6 separate regions of the Homo sapiens genome follow, and regions 1, 2, 3, 5 and 6 are each linked to region 4. The links are contacts of gene promoters, found by promoter capture Hi-C in blood cells and fetal thymus (Javierre and others, 2016). All regions are on one chromosome and are shown on one strand. Each heading gives the region's core, a stretch centred on a gene start or on the middle of the fragment in contact. The rest is flanking DNA. Distances are from core to core; before and after follow the strand shown.

What was found. The method cuts DNA at HindIII sites, captures the fragments that hold promoters and counts their contacts. A CHiCAGO score of 5 or more calls a contact.
Region 1: a fragment that was not itself captured here is called in contact with the fragment with the promoter of KCNA10 in region 4 in 1 of 17 cell types (neutrophils); the score reaches 5.3 in neutrophils.
Region 2: a contact is called between a fragment that was not itself captured here and the fragment with the promoter of KCNA10 in region 4, in 1 of 17 cell types (neutrophils). The highest score is 8.3, in neutrophils.
Region 3: a contact is called between the fragment with the promoter of SLC6A17 here and the fragment with the promoter of KCNA10 in region 4, in 1 of 17 cell types (neutrophils). The highest score is 5.9, in neutrophils.
Region 5: a contact is called between a fragment that was not itself captured here and the fragment with the promoter of KCNA10 in region 4, in 1 of 17 cell types (neutrophils). The highest score is 8.6, in neutrophils.
Region 6: a contact is called between a fragment that was not itself captured here and the fragment with the promoter of KCNA10 in region 4, in 1 of 17 cell types (M1 macrophages). The highest score is 5.0, in M1 macrophages.

What each region holds. Positions count from the first base shown.
Region 1 is chr1:110,123,215-110,126,898 of GRCh38, forward strand. No RefSeq gene overlaps it. Among named protein-coding and RNA genes, the nearest start is that of UBL4B, 13 kb to the left of the region's middle. The HindIII fragment of the contact is 1,468 bases long and covers 896-2,363 here.
Region 2 is chr1:110,164,132-110,168,233 of GRCh38, forward strand. SLC6A17 (solute carrier family 6 member 17) reads left to right here. Exons shown (of 12, transcript NM_001010898.4): 2 at 2,712-3,084. The coding sequence starts at 2,799. It overlaps SLC6A17-AS1 (SLC6A17 antisense RNA 1), which reads right to left. Exons shown (of 3, transcript NR_183667.1): 2 at 2,700-3,062; 3 at 1,817-2,183. Among named protein-coding and RNA genes, the nearest start is that of SLC6A17-AS1, 2.7 kb to the right of the region's middle. The HindIII fragment of the contact is 4,912 bases long and covers 317-4,102 here.
Region 3 is chr1:110,149,183-110,152,941 of GRCh38, forward strand. It overlaps SLC6A17 (solute carrier family 6 member 17), which reads left to right and starts at 1,312. Exons shown (of 12, transcript NM_001010898.4): 1 at 1,312-1,701. RefSeq lists a silencer at 1,307-1,356 and an enhancer at 2,985-3,279. The HindIII fragment of the contact is 4,529 bases long and covers 82-3,759 here.
Region 4 is chr1:110,516,589-110,520,573 of GRCh38, forward strand. It overlaps KCNA10 (potassium voltage-gated channel subfamily A member 10), which reads right to left and starts at 2,587. Exons shown (of 1, transcript NM_005549.2): 1 at 629-2,587. The coding sequence starts at 2,199. The coding sequence ends at 664. The HindIII fragment of the contact is 5,009 bases long and covers 2,003-3,985 here.
Region 5 is chr1:110,188,415-110,192,259 of GRCh38, forward strand. It overlaps SLC6A17 (solute carrier family 6 member 17), which reads left to right. Exons shown (of 12, transcript NM_001010898.4): 7 at 3,558-3,799. Among named protein-coding and RNA genes, the nearest start is that of KCNC4-DT, 20 kb to the right of the region's middle. The HindIII fragment of the contact is 2,962 bases long and covers 1-2,760 here.
Region 6 is chr1:110,868,112-110,871,995 of GRCh38, forward strand. It overlaps a transcript of CD53 not described here. Among named protein-coding and RNA genes, the nearest start is that of CD53, 3.1 kb to the right of the region's middle. The HindIII fragment of the contact is 6,424 bases long and covers 1-3,884 here.

The DNA.
Region 1 (3,684 bases), core at 380-2,879, 390 kb before region 4:
GATTTTGACAAGCTTTACCTCAGTGCTGCTCAGTTTGCTGAAGCCTTGCCTCTGACAGCTGCCATGCTGCACAGCCTCAGGCCCGTCAGTAACTGTTTCATCACAGTGAGCCACCCACCACCAGCAGCCTGTCCTCTGATGCCGACCAGCTCCCTGTTGCCTCAAAATGCAACGTGTTCAGAAAACCAGTCCCAGATTCTCATTTCCTTGAGGGTTTCTTGCTTAGAATCTCTTCTGGTATGAGTTACTGTTCTAAATTGGGGACAACAGATTTCACTCTGGCTGATTTAAGCAGAAAGGAATTTATTAGAGGATATTACATAGAATCTTGGAGAGGGCCAAGACACTACATGGCCCAGAAGATCACAGTCAGGAGAAATACCTGAGCATCTCACAGGACAGATCTGGTGGAAATACCGCTCTGCTGTCCACTCCTCAGGGAAGACATGCTAGAAACCCCCACAGCTGGCCCAGGGGACTTAATCCCCTTGGCCTACCACTGCTTTACATTTTTTTTTTAACTCTATAGCTCCTCTCTCCATCCCCTCCCCAGGTTCATGTGGGGATTCTCTTAGTGGAACTGGGTCTCACATGAACCCTAGCTGCAAAGGAGTCTGGCAAATGTGGTTACACACTTTCCAGTCTCTTTAGTGCAGGAAACAAACTCTGTCTTTGTCTCTAAGATAGCTTTTTCCTTGGTTCTCCAGCTCCCAGCAGAGGGACCTGCCCTTGCCACTGGGCATTCTTTTGTTGTTGACTGCCAAAGTGGAGGTTATTAAACCCAGGCATTGTCGAGGCAGACGTTCTGCTCAATGTCCTTAACATGTAATATCTTCACAGGTGTAGAGGGTATGAAGAGCTCTCACATACTTTTTCTCTTTTAGTCCTCTCAATAAGCTTGAAAAGTTGTCATTATCATCCCCATTTTATATTTGAGGAGATTGAAACTCAGGTTAAGTGAGTTCCCAAGGTCATAGAGCTGGTACATAGCAGATCCAGTATCCGAATCCTTTACTTCCATTCCCTACTCCCCACCCACATAGGTGGAACAATTTATTGCAACTTTAGTTTGTGGCTTGATCTCACTTTTATAACTAATCATCTCTTCCCCAGCTCAGGGCTACAACCAGTCCTTTGTGCAGCCTTGCCTTATACCAGATTTTGGTGAGAGATGGCACAGAGTAGCAGTTAGGGCATAGGTCCTTGAGTTAGAATGCTAGGAGCCACTTGTGAGCTGGGCTGACATTGGGCATGTTACCTTAACCAAAGTAGCTAATCATATGGTGCTATGGTCTGGATATTTGACCCCACCAAACCTCACGTGGATATTTGACCCCACCAAACCTCATGTTGAAATTTGATCCCCAGTGTTGGAGGGGGGGCCTAATGGGAGGTGTTTGGGTCATTGGGATGGATCCTGCACAAATGGCTTGATGCCATCCTCATGGTAATGAGTGAGTTCTCACTCTATTAGTTCCATGAGAGCTGGTTGTTTAAAAGAGCCTGGCACCTTCCTCATTTCTTTTGTGATTTTGCTGTCTTGCTGTGTGATCCCTGCACACTCCAGGCAGGGATCCCAACATGAGTGGAAGTAGCTTGAGGCCCACACCAGATGTAAATGCCAGCACCATGCTTCTTGTACAGCTTGCAGAACCATGAGCCAAATAAACCCTATTTTTTTTATAAATTACCCAGCCTCAGGCATTCCTTGTATAGCAACACAGACTGAGACAACTCATATACCCTACCTTGTTATCATCCAGACTGAGATAAGTAGCATCTATTACCTTAGTGACTTATAGACAGGATTAAATGAATGATCACAAATGAAGAGCTTAGAACATAGTAAAAGTACAGTGTACAGTAAACTTTACTGTTGCTACTGTTTGGGGTGGTAGAGCCAAAAGTATCAATTGTTAATCACTCAGAAGACTATTCTCACACATTGTTGGCTTTTGTTTTGTCAAATTCTAGGTTCATTGATGAGATTGTGTTGGATTATCTTGGAGAAGGGGGCAGTGGGAGGAAAGTTGGAAGGAAAGCAGACTAAAGAGATGTGTTGGGGGTGGGGGGTCCACGATAGATGAGACTGGAGCCATCCTTCCCTATGGGACCCCAGGGAGGTGACAGAGCCTTAGGACAATGGCTGCAGGGTACCCTGAGAAGGTTGACTCTAAGCAGAGACCCTTCCCCAAATTGGCCTAGAAGCAGGGACCCATCACCCTTCCTGAATCATGAGAATTGGTCAATGAGCATACCTGTGTAGACAGAATGTGTGAAGACCAGCAGACTCTCCTCTAAATGTTCTGCAATGTGGGAGACCCCAGAGTCTTTGCTTGCCTCTGATGGTGCATGGGCAAGGAAGCTTTAATATGGCAAATTGAATTTCCCTCTGGGCTGGTAGGATGGAGTTTTGGAGCAGATTACATTTAATCTGGACAAAGAAACGAGACCTTTTAAACACCGTATGTTGGAGAGCAAAATCTCTTACTCATGATACCCTATCTTGTTATCATCCAGAACGAAGTCCCAGCAAAACCAAAATTTAGGCCTTGGAAACCTAGGTCTCTATTCCTCTGGCCTTTTCTGGAGTACAGCCAGAAACCAAAGCTCTTTTCTCTTCCCTCTCATTATCAGACTCACACCCCATTGAGGACCTGAATGAGTCAGGTAAACACAGATTCAGATCCCAGCTCTGCCACTTAGCAGCTGTGTGTGAGGTTAAGTCACCACTAAAATGAAATAATTAAATTCCCTTCAAAGATCTGTCATGAGGATGGTGCAAGACAATGTAAGCTATGCCTGTAGGTTGTCGTGCAGTGTGGCTACTGTGCTCTTGTGCAGATTTAAGCCAGTGAAGTATGTGAAGGCTTCGCAGTGTGTTAGCTTGGCCGGGCAAAATTACATTATCCAGAATTCATTCTCCAGTGTGCTTCCAGATAGGGTAGGCCACAGGCGATAGTCTCTCATGAAAGTTGGAGGACAGAAGGAGGCAGGGCCATTTTGTCACATATACTCCCCTTCTTTCTCTTATTCAGTCAAACACTAATTTAGGTGCTGCTGTAAAGGGATTTTGCACATGTAATTACAGTCCCTAATCAGTTGACTTTAAATTAGGGAGATTATCCTGGGTGGGCCTGACTCAGTCAGTTGGAAGCCCTTTAAGGCTTAGCCCTTCCCTGAGAGGGACTCATGCCTGTGCGATTCAGCCTGCCATGACTTTCCCTTCCTGACCACCTGTGTAGCCAGCTCCTCACTTGCATAAGCCAATTTCCTGCAACAAATCCATATACATCTCCTACTGGCTCTGCTTCTCTGTGGACCTCTGACAGATACAGGGTGCCTCTCCTGGGACACAGAGTGGTAGGAGGCATTGGGGAACAAGGAATCAGGTGTGCCTGGTGGAGGAACCCCTGTGGAAGCCCCTGCAGTGGTGCCAGAGAGATGCACAGGCTATGGCAGGGCAAGCCCTGCCTCTGCCCACATGTCTACATTGTTTGTGGAGCCCTTGCTGTCTGTCTGCTGGCCTGGCACAAACACAGGGCCACATTATGGCATTGAAACACTGAGTGAGACAGGTGTCATTATCTCTGCTTTTCAGATAAAGAATCAGAGACTCAGAACTGAGTGACTGGCCTGAAATCACTTGGCTAATAGGTGGTGGAAGTGAGTCCTGGCTTACCC
Region 2 (4,102 bases), core at 1,523-4,022, 350 kb before region 4:
ACCTAGAACAGAGGCTGGCATATAGGAGGCACTCAGGAAATGTATGTCAGGTGAGTGAGTGAGTCAATGAATGAAGTGAGAACTCTCAACTCCAGGCCTGTCTGGCTTCACAGCTCATGCCTCCCACTCCCACACCCAGTGATCTTCTCCCTGTGTCCCCCACCTCTACTGAGTCTGACTCTGTCCCAGACAAGGCTCTGTTCAGGGTGTTAGGAGAACCTGAGTAGCTTTGGGCAATTCAGTTCCTCTCTCTGGGCCTCAGTTTGTTCAGAGATAAAATGGGAATGTTGAGTCGGACAATTGCTAGGGTCCCTCAAGCTTTAATTTCTGAGTCTGACCCTGTTGTCACCTGGGCATATTCACTGGACACAGAGGGTTCCAGTCATGACTGCAGCCCAGCCCAGTGCCTCAGCCTGGAGGTTTGTGCGAGCCCTTTGCATCCTGCAGACCTAATGGCACAGGAGTTCTTGGGCCCCCATCCCTCAGTGCGGGATGCGCATGGCGTCAGTGACATCTTGGGAAGAAGGAGGAAGCTCGTATTAGCTGATGCCCTGTGGTTGCTGGATGCTGCTGTAGGTATCCTCCTTCTGCTTTACCAGAATGTCCTGGAGTCCTCTTCTTTTAAAATGATGCTTTTTTCCTCCCAGCCCTTTCTCATCTTGGTGACCGAAGCTGCCACTCACTAGGCTATTTATGGAGAAACATGTGCTCCAATTGGTCAGCAGCAAGATAAATTCTGCAGACTTGCAGGAAACTCCCTTGGTTTTCTCTAGTTGTGGCTTGATGATCAGTAAATCATACCTAATGCACTGCTCTGATCAAACCCTGCTGCAGGCAGAGTGGCTGGAGACAGGCTCTGAGCCAAGGAACTCTAGTGATTGCAGGCTCCAGAGGGACCCCCACCCTTCTTCCCAGATCTCATCTTTAGTAACAGCTCTGTATGTAAGCTGTAGGGGACGGGGAGATGCCTTGACAGGCAGCCGTTTCTCTGTTTGCATGCCCTGCAGACGGGGACCTGCTGAGTGAGGAGAGGAGCTCGCCCTGGCAGCCCAGGCAAGGACACAGGCCTCTCCGTTGCGTAACTCCTAGGGCCGTACTTCACTTGTGTAGCACAGGCAACACGGCAGCCCTGGGGGGAGGCCCAGGGCTGAAAGTTCCACAGATGCACAAGTGCCACCCGTGGGGCACCTTTTAGGATGCAATGGGGTGTTCAACTGACCCACTGGGAAGTGAGTCCCAGCAGAGAGCTTCTTATAGGGAATTCTGTGGTCCTCTAACCAGGCTGGCCCTGTCATAGTTACCCCAAAGCCTAACCCTGTCTATGCTTGAGGTGTGAGGGGGCAGTCACTAAAGACTCACTGTTCCCTTGGAAGAGGAGGGCAGCAGGTGTCACCTGCTAATGTGGTCCAAGACCTGGCCTACGGAGGGCTAGCCAACCCCATAAACCTCCCAGTTTCATTACATGTGTAACAGGGCCTGGCTGGCAGGTCTCCTTGATGGTCAGGCCTTGGCTGGGGTCAGCCAGGATGTCTGGGTCAAGGCTGGCAGGAAGGACGGGCCTGGCCCTTGAACTGCACAGCAGCCTTGCCTGTGCCATTCAGGTGGCACGTACCTACGAGGAGAACAAACGGAGCCCAGCTTCCAGAGACAGCTCTTTCCCTTAATAAAGTAATTACAGAGCTGGGTAAGTTACATCCCTAGAAAGATGCAGGGCAACCGCAGGCTGGGGTGTGTGTGTTTAATTTTAAATCCTCCAACCTTCCCTTAATGAGGGGGTGCCTTGAAATATAACGGAATGGTGGAATTCTTCAAAGGCTTCGTTTTCTTGGTGCTTTATTTCTTTAAGGGAAAGCATGAAAGACAAATGAGGACTGGCAGGAGTAGGGGAGGGTTTTGCCTCCTCCGCCCATGTCGTGCAGACATTATCTGCTGTAAAACTGTCGCTGAAGGATGGAGAACCAGCTCTTGGCTGCAGAAGTCCTCAGATAATGTCAGTGCTGAGCAATGACCCAAGATTCATTGGCACTGAGCAAACAGCCCTTGGCTTCTGGTGCCAGAATCTTTAGCTGAGCCTGGTCAACCAGTCCAGCTAGGGGAATGGAGATGCCATCGGCACTGGTGTCCAGGGGCCCCCTGGTGATGGCTCAAGAGCCTTTTTTTTTTTTTTAAATCACCTGGGGATCCTGTAAAAAGGCAGAGATTGATTCAGGAGGTCTGGTGCGAGCCTAAGATGCCCCTTTCTAACCAGTTCCTGGTGCAATCCCTGCATTTTGAATGAAAAGGCCCTAAGGAAGGAAGGCGCTGGCTTCCGTGGCTTCCGCCATGTGGTTTTGGCTAAGCAGAACACCTGGAAGGGGAAGGCTGTATGGGCCTCCAAAGGGGCTTGAGCACTCTAAGCTCTGCAGTATGGAAGAGGGAAATGTCTTCACGGATAATGCTCTACTTGGGTTCGGAGTATGGCTTTGCCTATTTTGCCCCTTTAGGTTTACTTTTCAAATAATGCTCGGGTCAAGCCTCTGGAGAAACTGAGTCTGTAGGCCTTGAGCTCCTCACCGGGCAGCCCCTGATGGGGAGCTAGGGCAAGCTGCATATATGAGGCCCTTGACCTGCCTCACAGTGTGATGGGGAGTTAATTTGGGTTGTGTCCACGTTGGGCTCCTCACCTTCCTGGTGTGGTCAGATAATCCTTTACTGCTCACCTGGTTTCCTAGGTCCCTGAATGAGAAGGAGCTGACAGCAGCTGAATTCCATCTTCTCTGTGTGCTGGGGAGCAGGGCTACACGGCCCAGGTGGCATCAATGCCGAAGAACAGCAAAGTGACCCAGCGTGAGCACAGCAGTGAGCATGTCACTGAGTCCGTGGCCGACCTGCTGGCCCTCGAGGAGCCTGTGGACTATAAGCAGAGTGTACTGAATGTGGCTGGTGAGGCAGGCGGCAAGCAGAAGGCGGTGGAGGAGGAGCTGGATGCAGAGGACCGGCCGGCCTGGAACAGTAAGCTGCAGTACATCCTGGCCCAGATTGGCTTCTCTGTGGGCCTCGGCAACATCTGGAGGTTCCCCTACCTGTGCCAGAAAAATGGAGGAGGTAAGAGACAGCTCTGCCTGCATCAGGGGTCCCCTGCAAATAGGCCGGGGATGAGGGGTAAAAAAGAACACCCCTTTGCTGAGGCAGAACTGGAGCCCTTGTAGGTTGGAGCTCAGGATTCCAGAGTAAGACAGCCCAGGAATAGCTATAATGATGGTTAGTAGCTACCAAGAGACTACAGGACATGATAAGAAAGTGGGCTCTGGCCCCAGACTGCCTGGGTTCAGATTCCAGCCCTGCCAATCAACTTTGGGACCTACTACAAATTGCTTAACCTCTCTGTGCCTCATCTGCAAAATGAAAATAATAGTAGCTCCTGCCTCATAGGATAGTTGGGAAGATTAAATGAGCTTTACGTGCAGAATGGGCAACACGCTACCTGACACGGTAAGGAGCACCTGTTGGCCATTATTACTAAATGCTTATGAGGTACTAGGCACTGTTCTAAGGGCTTAATGGATATTAGGGCTAAGTGCCTGAAACTGCTGATATTTGAGCATCTTAGAACAACAAAGCACCAATTTTATGTGATTCAACCATCGAATCCTCCCAACAGCCTTATATGAAGGAGTTGTTATCATCCTTGTTTTACAGACTACAATACTGAGGCACAAATTGGTTAGATAACTTGTTCAAGGTTGTGGGTGATCAAGGTTACAGCTAGTGATAAAGTCAGGATGCAAACCTGGACAGGCTTGCCCAGAGCCTGGGCACTTAGCCTCCACACCTATTGCTTCCGGGTAGGAGGGGCCTTCACACTGCCCCCTAGGCTTGAATCCCTCTTGAGGATGTTGCCCCTGGTATCAAACCACTACCACCACTTCCAGCCCCCAGGAATTGTCCAAAGGCAGCTTTCCCTGAAACCAGAGATCAACTAACTAAAAATAAAGAAAACCCCAATAGGCTGGAAACAAAGAGTTTTGCAAGCCCAGACCTCTGGTCCTGGGAAAGTCAACTAGCAAGAGCTCTTGTGCTCCTGAGTCCCTGTGCCTGGCATGGCATGCTCCAGCCTGTTGGG
Region 3 (3,759 bases), core at 62-2,561, 370 kb before region 4:
GTCCAGTATAATAAAGATATGTCTAAGGCAAATGTCGGGCAAGTTTGCTTGCAGCGCATTATAAAAGATTGAGGTTTCCTAAGCTTGGAGTTTCTCAGTGTGTGTGGTCCAGTCTCATGTCCCACCCATAGGACTTCAGAGTTAAGGGAAGGTGATCTGAATGTGAAGCTCTTGCAGCCTGCTGTGCCATGAGTAATTAAAGTCCTTTGTGTCTGGCCCAGAGTTTCCTGTCTTCTGATGGCATCCATGAAACTGGCAGGGTAACTTAGATTGTAAGTGTAAAATCTCAGACTCTTCAGAGTTCTTGACAATGGCCCTTACCACCTTTCACTAAGACAACCTCCATCTCCCATTCCTCCCAAACACCTCCCTTGGATGCCAAAGGCCCCCTTAGTGTTCCCTAGAAGAGAGATAATTCATCCAGACTCTCATAACAGCCCCCCAAGGCCCTGGCAGGATGGCTCCTGCCTCCCTGTCTAACTTCACCTCTCATCATCCCCACCCCTGCTCCAGCTCAGGCAACCACCACCCCACCCCACGCATACGTTTCTACTCTCTTGCATCTATGCCCTTGCCATGCTGTCCACTCCACAGGGGTCATCCTTCTCCCCTTCTGACTGTCCATCCTTTAGGCCAGGATCTTCCAAGAGGCCTACTCAGAGACCAGTCAGAATTTCCCTGTCACTGTCTCCCCACTTTACTCATCTTGTACGGTTCTCCAATCCTTTCGCTTTGTACTGTAAAGACCTGGGTCAACCCACACTGCCTCTCCAGGAGGTTCCCTCACGTCTGTGATCCTTTCAGCCTCTGCAGCCCCTGGCATACAGTAGGTGCTCAACAGATGAGTGATGTCCTAAGAGTTGACCTGCACAGGGAACGGCCTTGCAGAATGGTAGGATGGAAGGACGGAGGAGTGGAAGGACATCTAGAGGAAAGGGAACAGAAGCACGGAGGTGGAAATGTCTAGGGCAGGGGAAATAACCACATGAATTGAGATTGAGTTCATTAAAGAAGGCCAAAAGAGGTGAGTCTGAAAAGAAGAAAGTGAGGCCCAGGGTCCAGGAGGGCTTTAACCATTGGGGCCCCATTCCTCTCCGAGGGCAGAAGCCCTGGCGAGGGCTCCAGGGTCTGCATCCCCTGACCAGGGGCCTCAAGAAGCTAAGCCCCCTTGCAACTCCCTCTCCCGCCCCACGCCCACCCTCTCCGCCTACGTCGGCCATCAGAGCCTCGCTCGCTGCCCGAGAGCCTCGCATTGACGCCGGCCCGCGCGTGAGTCAAGCCTGCGTCACGGCGCCCCGCCGCCAGGGTGGCCTTTCGGAAAGCGAGGGAACAGTGCGCGCAGCGCTCCGCCCAGCTCCGTTCTGCTCCGCAGAGCCGGCGCTGCCAGGGCGCAGGGAGGGCGGCACTCGGCCCCAGTCTTCGCAATCCCGCGCGCTCTCTCCGCCGTGGGACCTGGGTCCCCGCGCCGCTCCCCTGAGCCCCGAGCGCGCGGCGGGCGGGAGCCAGGTTGGGACTGGTGGTGAGGCAGGGAGTGAGGAGCGAGCGGAGTCGCGTGCGCCGGCGCGCAGCTCCGGGTCGCCCCAGCCCCAGCCGGGGGCCTGTGGCCCGGGGGAGGAGCTGTGCGTCCGCGACCCGTCGGGGATCGCAGCTGCTCGGCCGGAGTGCACGGGCCGAGTCTGCGCGACTACCCACGCGTGACAGGTGAGTCGCTGGCCGCGCCCCGCCTGGCTTTACCGGGCCGGCCACTGCAACTTTCCCTGTTCTGGCCCCGCCCCAGCCAGGGAGGGCTGAGGACCAAGGTGTGAGGCGGCGCTGCCCCCGCATCCGCCCGACCCTGCGCTCGTCCCGGGCTCCTCTCGCCGCTCCAGCCGCCGTTGCCTGGCGACGGAGCCCCGGGGCCCGCTCTCCTTCGCGCATCGGGGTCCCCAGCGGCGTACGCACGGGTTGGACACCGGGCTTCAGCTTCTGGTGCTCAGAAGGGCCCAAGAACTCCGGAGGAAATTGGGCTTAGCTGCGGAGGCAAGCGCCCGCGGAGAACCGGAGGGGGCCTGTCCGGCCCATCCGCGGCTTGAAACTGCGCGCCCAGGGCGCAGTTCCACTGGGAGCCTCTTACGCAGCTGGAGACCCCAGCCCCAGCCGCTCGGCCTCAGGCCTGTGACCTTGACAGTAACATTGGCAAGCGAAGCAGAACTGTCACGCCCGAGATGAATATTTAATTCTCAGTCCTGGGGCTGGTCCTCGCTGGATTCGGAGCTAGCAGAGAGCCCTTCCTCCCTCGTGGGAAGCGCATCTGGGGAACGGAATGGCTGAGACAGGGGACGTGCGTGTGGTGCCCATCTGGAGGGGGCGCCGTCCTGGCGGGTCGAGAGGCCTCTGCTGCATTTATGCCTGTGTGCGCCGTGCTCTGAAGCGATGCTGGATGCTCGCAGTACTATGGGTGGGCCGCTCCCCAGGGGCGCGGCTGCCTTGGAAAGAAGCGTGATGTTTCCTTTTAAAGCCCAGACAGCCCTGTCAGAAATCAAATTCAGAAATCCCAAGGCCATTCACCTTACAGGACCTAGGCCCTGTCAAGTTGGCTTTAGAAAATATTTTTTGATGCCATTCCTCTTTCCTTTTTTTTTTTAAGAAATACTTTAACAGGCCTTTTGGATTACGAGATTTCTAACCAGAGCTACCTTTGGGCAATTCAGCTGTGAACTTGAGGCAGATGGGGGTGGGTTGGGGAGACAGGGAAGTGGTAATGAGGAGGAAGATTCTTTTCCGGGCATTGTCCTTGTTAACAGGAACTTCAGGAACAAAGACAATCCTGTAATGGCTCCAAAAAAATTCGGCCAAAACTTTAGTTAGCGCCTAACTGTTAAGGCCTTGCTGGACACGCTCACTGATGTCTGGAGAACAAGGTCAGAGTGTGTTGAGGTTAACAGTGGGGAGTTCTTGTGTCTCGTTCTGTGCTTACATTATCCCATGGCTCTGTGAGGCGGACCCATCACCTGGGCAGGAAGAGCTTTGAGGTCACACCTGATTGTCCTTGGCCATGGCTCATCCACGAGGACCGTCAGAGGCTTTAGCTCCACTGCCGGATTTTTCTCCAATGGAACATCTGTGGCTAAGTAGGTGGTTGAGTTTCAGCGAATCCCTGAAGCTCAGCCTGGAGGGTGACTCAGTGCAGGAGGCAAATGGTGCCCACCAGCTCTGATTGGAGTGAGTTTGTTTGGCCTGAGTCACACACAGAGTCGTGTGTCAGCTGTTTGTGAGTTGATTGGAGTTCTTTAGCAGGACTCGTGAGCAGGAATGGCCTGAGCCCAAGTGTTTTGGGCAGAGGTGGGCAAGTCCTCTGAAGGAGCTAAGCAGAGCTCTGGCTGTTGAGCAAGGGTCCTGGAGCTCTGACTCCTTGGGAAGGTGAGCAGGGCCAGGCTGGGCTGGGCAGGGAGATGGGGAGAGGTGAAGGGGAGGGTAAGGAAAGGCTCTGTGATTGTGGTCAGAACTGGGCCCAGTGTTCTGCCATGTGCCAGTGGGGTGACCTTGGGCAAGTCAATTCACCTCGGGAGTCTCAGAGTTTCCTCAGTTGTAAAACAGGGATGCCTATGATATTATTTCTGCAGGCTTATTTTGAGCCAGGTGCTAGACACAGCAGGTGCTCATTAGATGTTAGTTCCCCATCCCTTCCCTTATGGGCCTTAACCAGAGGCAATTCTTTCTCTCATTGCTTCTGCTCCATCATGAAAGGGGTTGTGGGGACACATGAAGGTTCGGTGCTTC
Region 4 (3,985 bases), core at 1,337-3,836:
CTGTAATGTGGGAATAATAATCAAATCAAATAATAATCAAATCTGATTATTCTAAGATGCAGTGAGATAATGTAGGTGAAAGTGTTTTTGGAAAATTTATGCAGTGCTACACAAGTACAAGGTATTATTATTATTGTAATTGAATAACTCTGAGCTCTTCCTCTTTGCTCACAGCAACCCTTGGTCTTTTCATATGCTTCCTCGTAGGAAGACCAAAACCAGTGCTTTTAAATCTTTAATATGCAAACGAATCACTTGGGATCTTGTTAAACTGCAGATTCTGATTCAGTAGGTCAGAGTAGGCCTAGATTCTGCATTTTCATCCTCCCGGGTGATACCAGTATTTCTGGTCTGGGGACCTGAACTATCCCTTCATAGGAAAAGAGATCCAAATCTTTCTATAATGTATTGAAAAGAAACAGTTTAGAAAATACAGTAGAAGTATGGGCTTATTAAAATAGCTTGTAGTCAAAGATAGTTATTGATCACAAAAGATACATTTTGATCTTTGGAAAGATGAAATGAGAGAAGGGAGAGGGAAAGAGGAAGGAATGAAGGGAGGAAGGGAAGGCAGAAGGAAGAGAGAGAGGAGGGGAGAAAGCGAGAGAGAGAGAGAGAGAAGAGAGAAGAGAGACAGGATGGACCCAAGAAGCCCTGGACTGATCATTTCCTAGACTTCTCTGTGGAACAGCCACCATTGGTCTTATTAAGAGAGTCTGTGCTGCCCATTCTTGAGCCTACACTGTTGAGGATTCTTTCAATTTCTCCTGGGATGTTCTGCTTTTCTTCATTCTCAGTCTCCCGGTGGTAGAAGTAATTGAAGTTGGAGACAATGACAGGCACAGGGAGGGCAATGGTGAGGACCCCTGCAATGGCACACAGAGTGCCCACAATCTTCCCCCCTGGGGTGGTCGGGCACATGTCCCCATAGCCTACAGTTGTCATGGTGACCACTGCCCACCAGAAGCCATCAGGAATGCTAGAGAAATGGGACTCTGGCTCATCCACCTCAGCAAAGTAGACTGCACTGGAGAAGAGGATGACTCCAATGAAGAGAAAGAAGATGAGCAACCCCAACTCCCGCATGGACGCCTTCAGTGTTTGCCCGAGGATCTGCAGCCCCTTGGAGTGGCGCGAGAGCTTGAAGATGCGGAAGACCCTCACCAGGCGGATGATCCTCAGGATGGCCAGGGACATGTTCTGTTGGGCACTCGGCTCTGTCTCCTGGACTAGCTCTGTGATGAGAGTTGCAAAGTAGGGGATAATGGAGATGATGTCAATGATGTTCATGATGTTCCTGAAGAAGTCAGTCTTGCTGGGGCAGACCACGAACCGGAGCACCAGCTCGAAGGTGAACCACACGATGCAGGTAGACTCCACCATGAAGAAAGGGTCGGTGAACATGGTCTGGGAGAGGACTGTCTTGCTCATGTTGAGATTGGGGTCTCTGACCACCTTTAGCTCCCTATCCTCCCGGAACTCTGGCAGTGTCTCCAGGCAGAAGATGGTGATGGAGATGACCACAACCAACACCGAGACCACGGCCACAGCACGGGCAGCGCTGGAACTTTCAGGGTACTCAAAGAGGAGCCAGAACTGACGGTGGATGTCATTGGTGGGTAGCAGTGTTTCAGGGTCTTTGATGAAGCCTTCATCCTCCCGGAACTGGTCCATGGCCTCACTACCCAGCTCATAGAAGGAGATTTCATCAGCAAAGATATCAATGGGAACATTGGCTGGGCGCCGAATTTTCCCACCAGATTGGTAATAATATAGGATTCCATCAAAACTGGGCCGGTTCCGATCAAAGAAATACTCATTTCTCATGGAGTCAAAGAACTGCATCCTTTTTTCCCGGTCTCCCAGGAGAGTCTCTGGGAACTGACTAAGGGTTCTGAGCTGGGTCTCAAATCTCAGCCCAGCAATGTTGATGATCACCCGCTGGTTTCCTTCATTTAGGACCACTGGCTCAGGCCCTGGGGGGTCAGCATAGTCTCCCGGAAGCTTGGAGAAGGCCGTCTCATGGTTGGTGCTTTCGCTGATGAGGATCTTCCCGTTGGAGAAGGAGCTGCCCCCAGGCCGGCCTTTTGGGCTGGTTGAGTCGAAGTCTGTGGCATAGCCTGGCTCTTCTTGGATTTCATCTGAATTATCAAAATTGACCAGCGCAACCTCCATTTCTTTCCAGCCACACACATCCATTCTAGGGGAGCCAGGGAAGAAGCATGAAGATCCTCAGCCTTCACTGCCTGCTGTGAGCTATGGAGAAGAAGAAGTTCATTATACAAGATCCAGGGCAGAATACAACTGGCCCTTGTTTATTGAGGTAAGGTACACCAATGGGCTAATCAATGACTTATTTGTAGCTTGGGAAGGAACGTCATGGTTATTTTGGCAGCATGCTTCCCTTAAAATCATTTTGTACCCCTGAGTTTGCATAAACTAATAACTAGGAGAAATTGCAAAAAAAGGATCCTGGCAAAGAAGGGGAGATTCTCCCCAGCAAAGGATGGTCTCCATATGTGATGGCAGAGGGGCCATACTAAAAGAGGAAGTTAACATTCCTTAATAATAAAAAGCATGATCTTGTATTTGCATGAAGCCTTCTGTCTCACCAAACACGTCTCCATGCCCAATCTCATTCGTAATGCCTCTCTTTCACACCAACAGCCAGTCCCTCACACATCCTTTTGGTCATGTCTTCAAAATATATCTAGAATTCAACCATTTTGCATCACTTCCACCCCTGCTTCTGGACCAAGTGGTGAAGGGTGGAACCAGATCTATGAACCCAATGGGGATTCTTTAGGGAAGGAAAAACAAGACGCTGGGTTGGCCAATCGACAATGTCCTCTAAATGACCCCTCACCTGGAAATAACTCCTAGAGTTGTTTTGAAGGTACCTCAAATGAGATAACACGTATGGAATGCTTGGTGGAAAGAAAGATCACTATATTATAGCTATTGTTTTTTGTCAACTTTCCCACATAACAAGCACTTTAGAAACTACCAGCAATTGGAATTTTTTTTGGCCTGAGTCCAAGGTGTCCATAGGAAGTAATTTCATTTTGAGAAATCATTTTAGGTGGGAAGGAAGTAAATAATTGTGTGTGTCTGTGTGTGTGTGTGTATATGTGTGTGTGTGTGTGTGTGTGTGCGCGCGCACGCTGGAGGTGGGGTTAGGAAATCATGCCCAGTGGGCTTGGACATCTATACACATAGACTAATATTTCTTTCCTCAGGTTCATTCTAGCTTCAGTTTCAATTTAAGAACACTGAACCCAGGCAGGCTGGGGGTGGGAGTGGGAGAGAAGTAAGGGACTTAACCTCAGGCAAAATCTGTAGTGGTCACAGCCTTGGAGAGGTTTCCTTTACAGGCGACAAGGCTATCCTGCAGTGTAGTGTTGTAGTCTTTTCAAAGTGATTCCACATTCACTTATCTCACTAGATGACAATAATCACGTGAGGTTAGATGTTATCTCTGTTTTGCAGATGCGGAAACCAAGTCACAGGGACAAAGTGACTTCCTAAGGTCACATAACTAGTGCTACAGAGTCCTGACCTAAACCTGGCCATGGCCTTCTGGCCCAGGGCCTTTCCCACTAGACCATGGAGTCCCTATATAGGAGCTGAGCCTTGTGGGGAGCTGTAGGCTAGGGCCACAGAATTGTCAGGGGTCCAGAGCTCTTTCCATCCCATGACCCCTTTTCTCAGTTCAGGTGCCATGTGTTGAATGATGAGCTCAAGTCTGGTTGGTCAGCACTGGTAGAGTACCCATTCTACCTCTCAGGAGTATGTGGCCATTGCAAACGGCCTAATTTCACGGAGCTGCTGCTTCCTCAGTTGTGGAATGAGGAAGGATGTACCCACTGCCAAGCATGCCAGGTGCCAGCCTGCTCTGCAAGGCTCGGTGAGCAGTAGGATGGCTGGGAGGCAGGATGGAATCTGAGAATAGAATCAGTCCACCCGAGTTCAAATCCTGGCTCTG
Region 5 (3,845 bases), core at 30-2,529, 330 kb before region 4:
ATTTTAAACCCTTCCAATCCTTCACACCCTCTGACCTTCCTTCCGGCATACTCATCCCCAGCAGATGATTTTGCCTCCTGCTTTACAGGGAAAACAGAAGCTGCCAAGAAACTCCCTCAGATGACAGAGACAGAAACCGACCATAAAACCTGCCTGCAGCTGCCCCATCCTGTCCTCCCTCCCTCCTCTCTCAAATGAGCAGCCCAAGGGTGGTCCTATGGAGGACAGCTTCCCACCCCATCCCGATCCCTACCCTCCAGCTTTTCAAGACACTCCATTGAAAACAAAAACAAAAAAGAAATCAAGACAACATATAAAAATGCAACCCTTTGTTGATTTCATAGCCTTCTCCGGATACTGCCCTTCTCCTGATCCGAGGCTTGCTTCTCCGAGGACCTGCTTACCCACATTGCCTCCATTTCCTCCCCTCTGCCTCTCTCTTTTCTTCACTTCCCCTGGCTTCTTGCCAGGGAGCAACTCCGAGGAAGCCTCTGAAGCCCCCTGTGGCCTCCTGCGTGGACTCCCTCAGGGTCTTTCACTGGCAGCACTGACCCTTCCTCCTCCAGGCTCTGGGTTTTCCTCTTGCCTCTGCTGCTTCTCCTTCTCTGACTCCCTTTCAGGAGACTCTCCCTCTTCCCTGCATTCAGTGTTGGAGATAGGAGCAGGCTTTTGCTTCTTATCCCTCTGTAACTACAGCCACAGCCTCAGCTCCTGCCAGCACACCTGCTACTCAGAAAGTCTATCTCCAGCTTGTCTCTCTCTGGCTCCAGGCTCATCTGTCCAGCGGACCACTTGGCATTTCATTTTAGATGTCTTAAAGACACATTCAGCTCAACCTTTGTAGAACTAATGTCCTGATCCTCCCTGCCCAACACCATCAACCTGTTCCTCTCCCACTGTCCCCATCTCCACCTGCTCAGGTATGCAGGCCAGAGACATGGCCCTCACCTCGGCCTCTCCCTCTCCAGCATCTCCCATCTCCAGTCCATCCCGAAGGTCTCCTTGGTTTGTCCTGCGAAGATCTCTCCATTGGCACCACCCAGCCCCTTAGCAAAGCCACTGTCCCCTCCAGCCTGGACCCCAGAAGCCGCTTCCTCGAAGGTCTGCTGAATCCACTTATTTCTTTTGGAAATGCACATGATTGTGTCCCCACTTCTTTAAACCCCTCGGTGGCTTCTTGGGTTAGGTGCTTTCTTAGGGTGAAGACAGGATCTGTACAGGCCTTTGATCTAACTTCTCTCCTCTCCCAGCCCTACCTGTGCCACCCCCACCTCGTCCTCACTGCTTCAGCCACCCTGGCACCTTCCATTCCCTTTTACACACCATCCTCTGTCCTATCTCAGGACCTCTGTCCATGCTTCTTCCCGAATGTTCTTCCCTCCCCTTGTGGCCTCGCTTTCATCAGCTTTCAAATGTCAGCTTGAGGACCCCTTCTTCTGGGAAGCCTTGCCTGGCCTCCCAACTTGTTCAGATCCCCTTCTTATGGGCTCTCCAAGCACTGGGTGCCCAGCCTTCACAGCCCTTGTCACATTTGCAATTTAGCATTTGTTCGTGGGATCATTTGACCAATGTGTCTCTCTCCAACTAGAATGTAAACTTGGAGAGCCTGATTGCTTCTATTCCCCATGGCCTCTGCATCGCCTAGCACCAGGCCTGGCCCACAGCAGGTGCTCAGAGATTGATGGATGAGTGGCTACATGTCATTGCCACAGGGAGGCCTTGACACCTTATACCTAATAAGTACACAGGGGTGGGCTGGGGAGAGGGTCTCCTCATAGATGCCAAGGGGCCCTTAGATCCTTAAGGCCTGGGTTCTGGGCTTTCTTGGTGGACTAAAGATGGTTTTACTTATTTTGTGCTGGATGGGGGACCTTAATCTCCCCTGGAGTACACATGCTGTCTGACCAGGCAGTCCTCCTGGGTCTCCATTTGTGCCCAGGCCCTGAAGCTCAAAGGCTCGACTACCATCCCCCACCTCTTTCCCCTCAGCATGGGGGTGCCGCCCTCAGCCTCACTGCTCTGCCAGCGCTCTGAGCTTGCCAACATCTCAGCTGTTGGAGTGCTGCCAGGAGTTGAGACATGCCTAGGAAGCTGCTGAGATGATGGCAGGTGGGCCCTGTGTCCTGGATGTTATTTAGGGCTGTGATATTAAAGACAGCTAAAGTCCAGACGGACCCTAGAGTCCAACACCTCACTGTTCAGGTGAGGACTTACCCACAGGTACTCAGAAGGGGCAGCCGGGCCAGGACCCACACAGGGCTTGTCACCACAGGGAAGTGAACTCTCTGAATTGGCTCCTTGCCTCCTTAGTCTGTCTGGAGTGAGGTCACTTAGGTTCACCTCAGCAGCAAAGGTCACAGGGGAAAATGCTTTAAAGAGTATAGGTGATAGAAAAACTGAGTCAGGAGTTGGTGCTGGGGCCGGGGGCGGGGGCCTGGCCCAGAATATCTATATTTTAGTTATCACTCTGCCCCGACTAACCAGCTCCATTACCTTGAGCAAGTCATTTCATCTTTGGGGTCTCAGTTTACCCTTTAAAAACATGAATAGTAATCCTTGCTTCCTGCACCCCCGCAAAACACAAAACACCCTGTCCTGACGAGGTCAGCCTCATTCTGTTGGGATTGAGTGCCACTACGTACAGGCATTACTTGTTGCTATACATTTGATCCTCACGTTCACTCCGAGACTCTATTACTATTCCCTTTTCTTCAGATGAGTAATCTGAAGCTCATAACACAGTCAGTGCCACTTACCAAAAGCTTCATAGCCATTTAAAGATGGGAGTCAGGATTTGGATCTGGATCTGTCTGAGACTCTAAAGCTCTGTGCTGGGTCCAAGGCTTGGTCCCTGCCCCAAGGAACAAACAATAAAAGGAAAATAGGTTGGAAAGGGGCTTTGGAAATTGCTCCATGCCATCCCAATGCTGTTGCAGTTCGGGCTCCTGTCAGGTGTGAGGGCAGATGGAAGCTTAGGCGGAGGCCCTTTCTCCAGGAATTGTCTAGGTTCTGTGCTTCAGGTTGGGTGATGGTGGGGAAAAGCAGGCGGTTTGGGTTTTTTTTCCTTTCATGAGGTAGAGGAGTTTGAGGTGGAGAAGGCGTCAGGGAGATTCTGGTATTCTCAGTTTTCTTGTGCTGCTGTGCAAGCTGTTCACTGCAGGACTCTAGGAGGCACCTGTCACACTGTAGTCCAAGTGAATGGCACTCTCTAGAGCTGTGTACTACATGACCATATGTGATGGCCTTGACGATGTTCCTTAGTATGATGGCTGCATGGGAAGCCATGGTAGCAGTTAAATTACTATGTAAGCACTCAGCATTTATGTTGTCTTACCAAGTCCTCACAGTCATCCTCTGAAGTTGATACTCTTGTGATCTGCGTATTGGGGAAACTGAGGCTCAGAGGAGTAGGGAAATTGCCCAAGTTCACACAGCTTCTTACCACTATGGGCTGCTGCCTCTGAACTCTGTTGAGGCTGAGAAAGGGGGTGTGCACATGAATAAAACCATCCCCTCTGTGTCTCTTTTCTTCCTCCTGCCTTGGTCTTCTGCCATAGCTGGACAAGATGCTGGACCCCCAGGTGTGGCGGGAGGCAGCTACCCAGGTCTTCTTTGCCTTGGGCCTGGGCTTTGGTGGTGTCATTGCCTTCTCCAGCTACAATAAGCAGGACAACAACTGCCACTTCGATGCCGCCCTGGTGTCCTTCATCAACTTCTTCACGTCAGTGTTGGCCACCCTCGTGGTGTTTGCTGTGCTGGGCTTCAAGGCCAACATCATGAATGAGAAGTGTGTGGTCGAGTAGGTGGCATCTCTCCTCCTGTCCCTCCTTCTCCCTGTCTACCTT
Region 6 (3,884 bases), core at 433-2,932, 350 kb after region 4:
AAGAGTCAATATTGTTAAAATGCCCATACTGCCCAAAGCAATTTGCAGATACTATGCTAATCCTATCAAACTACCAACACTATTCTTCACAGGACTAGAAAAAAACTATTTTAAAATTCATATGGAGCTAAAAACAAATAGCCAAGATAATCCTAAGCAAAAAGAACAAAGCTGGAAGCATCATGTTACCTGACTTTGAACTATACTACAAGGCTATCATAACCAAAACAGCATGGTACTGATACAGAAACAGATGCATAGACCAATGGAACAGAATAGAGAGCCCAGAAATAATGCTGCACACCTACAACCATCTGATCTTCAACAAAGCTGACAAAAACAAGCAATATGGAAAGGACTCCATACTCAATAAATGGTACTGGGCTAACTGGCTATCCATATGCAGAAGATTGAAACTGGACCCCTTCCTTATACCATATACCAAAATCAACTCAAGATGGATTAAATTTTAAATCTGAAACCTAAAACTTTAAAAACCCTGGGAAATAACCTAGGAAATACCATTCTGGACAAAGGCCCTGGTAAAGACTTGATGATGAAGATGCCAAAAGCAATTGTGACAAAAACAAGAATTGATAAATAAGGCCTAATTAAACCAAAGAGCTTCTGAACAGAAAGGGAAACTATCAACAGAGTAAATAGACAGCCTGGAGCATGGGAGGAAATATCTGCAAACTATGTATCTGACAAAGGTCTAATATCCAAATCTATAAGAAGGTTAAACTAATTAACAAGCAAAAACCAAACAACTCCATTAAAAAGTGAGCAAAGGACATGAATAGACATTTGTCAAAGGAAGTCACACATGTAGCCAACAGGCATATGAAAAAATACTCAGCATCGCTAATTATTAGAAAAATGCAAATCAAAACCACAATGAGATACCATCTCACACCAGTCAAAATGCCTATTATTAAAAAGCCAAAAAATAACAGGTGTTGGCGAGGTTTCAGAGTAAAGAGAATGCTTATACGCTGTTGGTGGGAATGTAAATTAGATTAGCCAGTGTGGAAAACAGTTTGGAAATTTCTCAAAGAACATAAAACAGAACTGCCTTTTGACCCAGCAATCCCATTACTGGGTACATATCTAAAGGAATACAAATTGTTCTATCATAAAGACACACGCATGTGTATGTTCATCATAGCACTCTTTACAATAACAAAGACACGGAATCAATCTAAATGCCCATCAATGATAGACTGGATAAAGAAAATGTGGTACATATACACCATGGAATACTATGCAGTCATAAGAAAGAATGAGATGATGTTCTTTGCAGCAACATGGATGCAGGTGGAGGGCCTTATCCTAAGCAATTTAATGCAGGAAGAGAAAACCAAATATTGCATATTCTCACTTATAAGTGGGAACTCAACACTGAGTACACATGGACGCAAAGAAGGGAAAAACAGACACTAGGGCCTACTTGAGGGTGGAGCGGGGAAGGAGGGAGAGGATTAAAAAACTACCTGTTGGTCACTATACTTACCCCCTGGGTGATGAAATAATCTGTACACCAAAACCCTGTCACATGCAATTTACCTATATAATAAGCCTGCATATGTACGTTTGAACCTAAAATGAAAGTTAAGAATGATGTTCTACAGCATTTTCTTCAAAACTTTACTCTTAGAGCCCATAAGCAAAATCCAATGTACTACTAGTTAACTTTAATCTCCCATTTGAAGTTTCCAATCTTATAATTCTCACAAAATCTATGCCTCTTAAACTCTAATATCCTTATATACTTAAATAACTCTGAAATAAACTTGGAAGTTCTATCTGTATTCTCATATTTCAACAGTGATTATCTTCCAATAATAAAACAGAACTACTCACTTAGAAGGCTTTTGAAAAAGGCCTAAATGGGGGCTAAATACAAAATGTCTATGTGAGTATTTGTCTATTCAGAATGTATTTTGGCAAATACGACTGCACAGTAGTAGAGTACTCATAATTTGTATTCCCGCTATTCGTCTGGCCAAGTTCAAGTTTCCTAAACTCTCAGATTCTATTATCATCTATGATGGTGATCAATATACCCCGTATTGAGAAGACCAAGCCATGAGTCTGAGCTTCTGCTAAATGCCTTTTCTAATTTAGTTTTTTCAAAGTTTTTGAGCGTTCTTTTGGGTTATTCAATAACATGGGGTTTCCTGATATTGTCTTATTCTCTATTTGTTTTTGTTCTTGTCCCTCCAAATGAATTCTAAATATCTGATGGTCAGAAACAGAATTAATTCTCAATAAAATTTTATAGGTATGGGTATAAGTGGGCACGTTGTTCTCTACCAAACCCCTAAACCCAGGAAACAGCCACCTCTAGTTGTCCGGCACTTGGAACAACCCTTCCCAGTGAAATGATGGAAAGAGGCACATTCAAGGAAAAATGTTCTGCATTAAAATGGTCACCTATTTTGCTGTGAACAATTTGTCTTGAGATAGTCTTCCCGATATTCCTAAGATTCCCCCTTATTTATCACTTCTCTCTCTGCAGATGTTCAGTCTACCTATCTCTTTCTTCTCCTTACTCTCTCTGCCTGTCCCAAATTTCTGGTTCCCCTAACTTGCAGGCCTCACATTACCTGAAACTATTCAAATATTTATAGAACACCTCTTATGTGCCAGACCCAATACCAGGCACTAAAAATACAGTCATGAGCAAGATCACCCAACATACACAGAGTAACACAGAACCTACAGAGCTTTCAGTCTAGTGGGGAAAACAATGAAAAACAAGGAATGACAGAGGGTGGAGGAATGCCTGTGGGCAATGGGAGCAGAGAGCAGGAGTAACTGTTCCTGCCTGGAGGGCTTTCTGGTGCTATGATGGGGGATGAGTAAGGAATTAAGTGAACAGGTGAGAGGATATTCTAGAGAGAGCTCGTGAGACAGAACTAGATTGATTTGTTTAAGCAACTAAAAGGAATTCCATATCCAGTGTTACCCAGTGTGAGGAGATCTTGGGGGTGGGGCCGGGGAAGAAATAGCCGGCTGAGAGTTTTAAGCTGGGGAGTCATGTGATTAAATTTGCATTTTAGAAGGCTCTCCTCCCTTCTTCCTGAGGACAGACTGAAGAAACATCCAAGGTGGTCTTGAAGGACACTGGGATCCTGTAACACAGGTAAAAGATAAAGACTAATGTAATTTCTATGGGGTTGGAGAGAGGTGGTCTGGTTTGAGAAATATTTAGGCAAAAGCATAACTGACAGGACTTGGTGGCTGATAATAGGTGGTGGTGTGGGAGAGAGAGTAGCTTAAGAGGACACCTGGTTTCTCATGAACGTGGCTGAAAGGCCAGTCAGGCCTTTCCTGGATGGTGGACATGGTGGGAGGAGCAGGCTTGAGTGTGGGGATGCCAAGTTAATCAAACTGAAGTTGGATATTGGATTTGAGGTGCCTGGGAGAGAGTGGAGCTCAAAGGAGAGATCATGGCATCTATATAGATTTGTGAATCTTTGGAACAGACAGATAGTAATTAGAGCCATCAGAATGGGTGAGATAATTAGGAAAATATGAGTTCAGCCAGAAGCCTCTCCTCAGCCCCACCACTTCAGGGACCTGTAAGCATGGCAGCAGCTCTGAGTGAGGGTCAGTGATTCCAGCCGAGGTGCAGAGACTTTTTAATAGCATTCCCTAAAGTGTAGTTACACTGAAAAATTGTTCCCCAAGAGAAACTACACACACACACACACACACACACACACACACACCACACAGTTCCATGCTCAGATAAGTTTGGAGAAATCTATATATTATTTCCCCTGCTTAGAGAATATTAAGGACTGACAAGTTCTGCAGTAAAGACCTTTTTACCTTCATTTAATTCAGTTTTCCCCACAAGACAGCCCTGGCTGGAG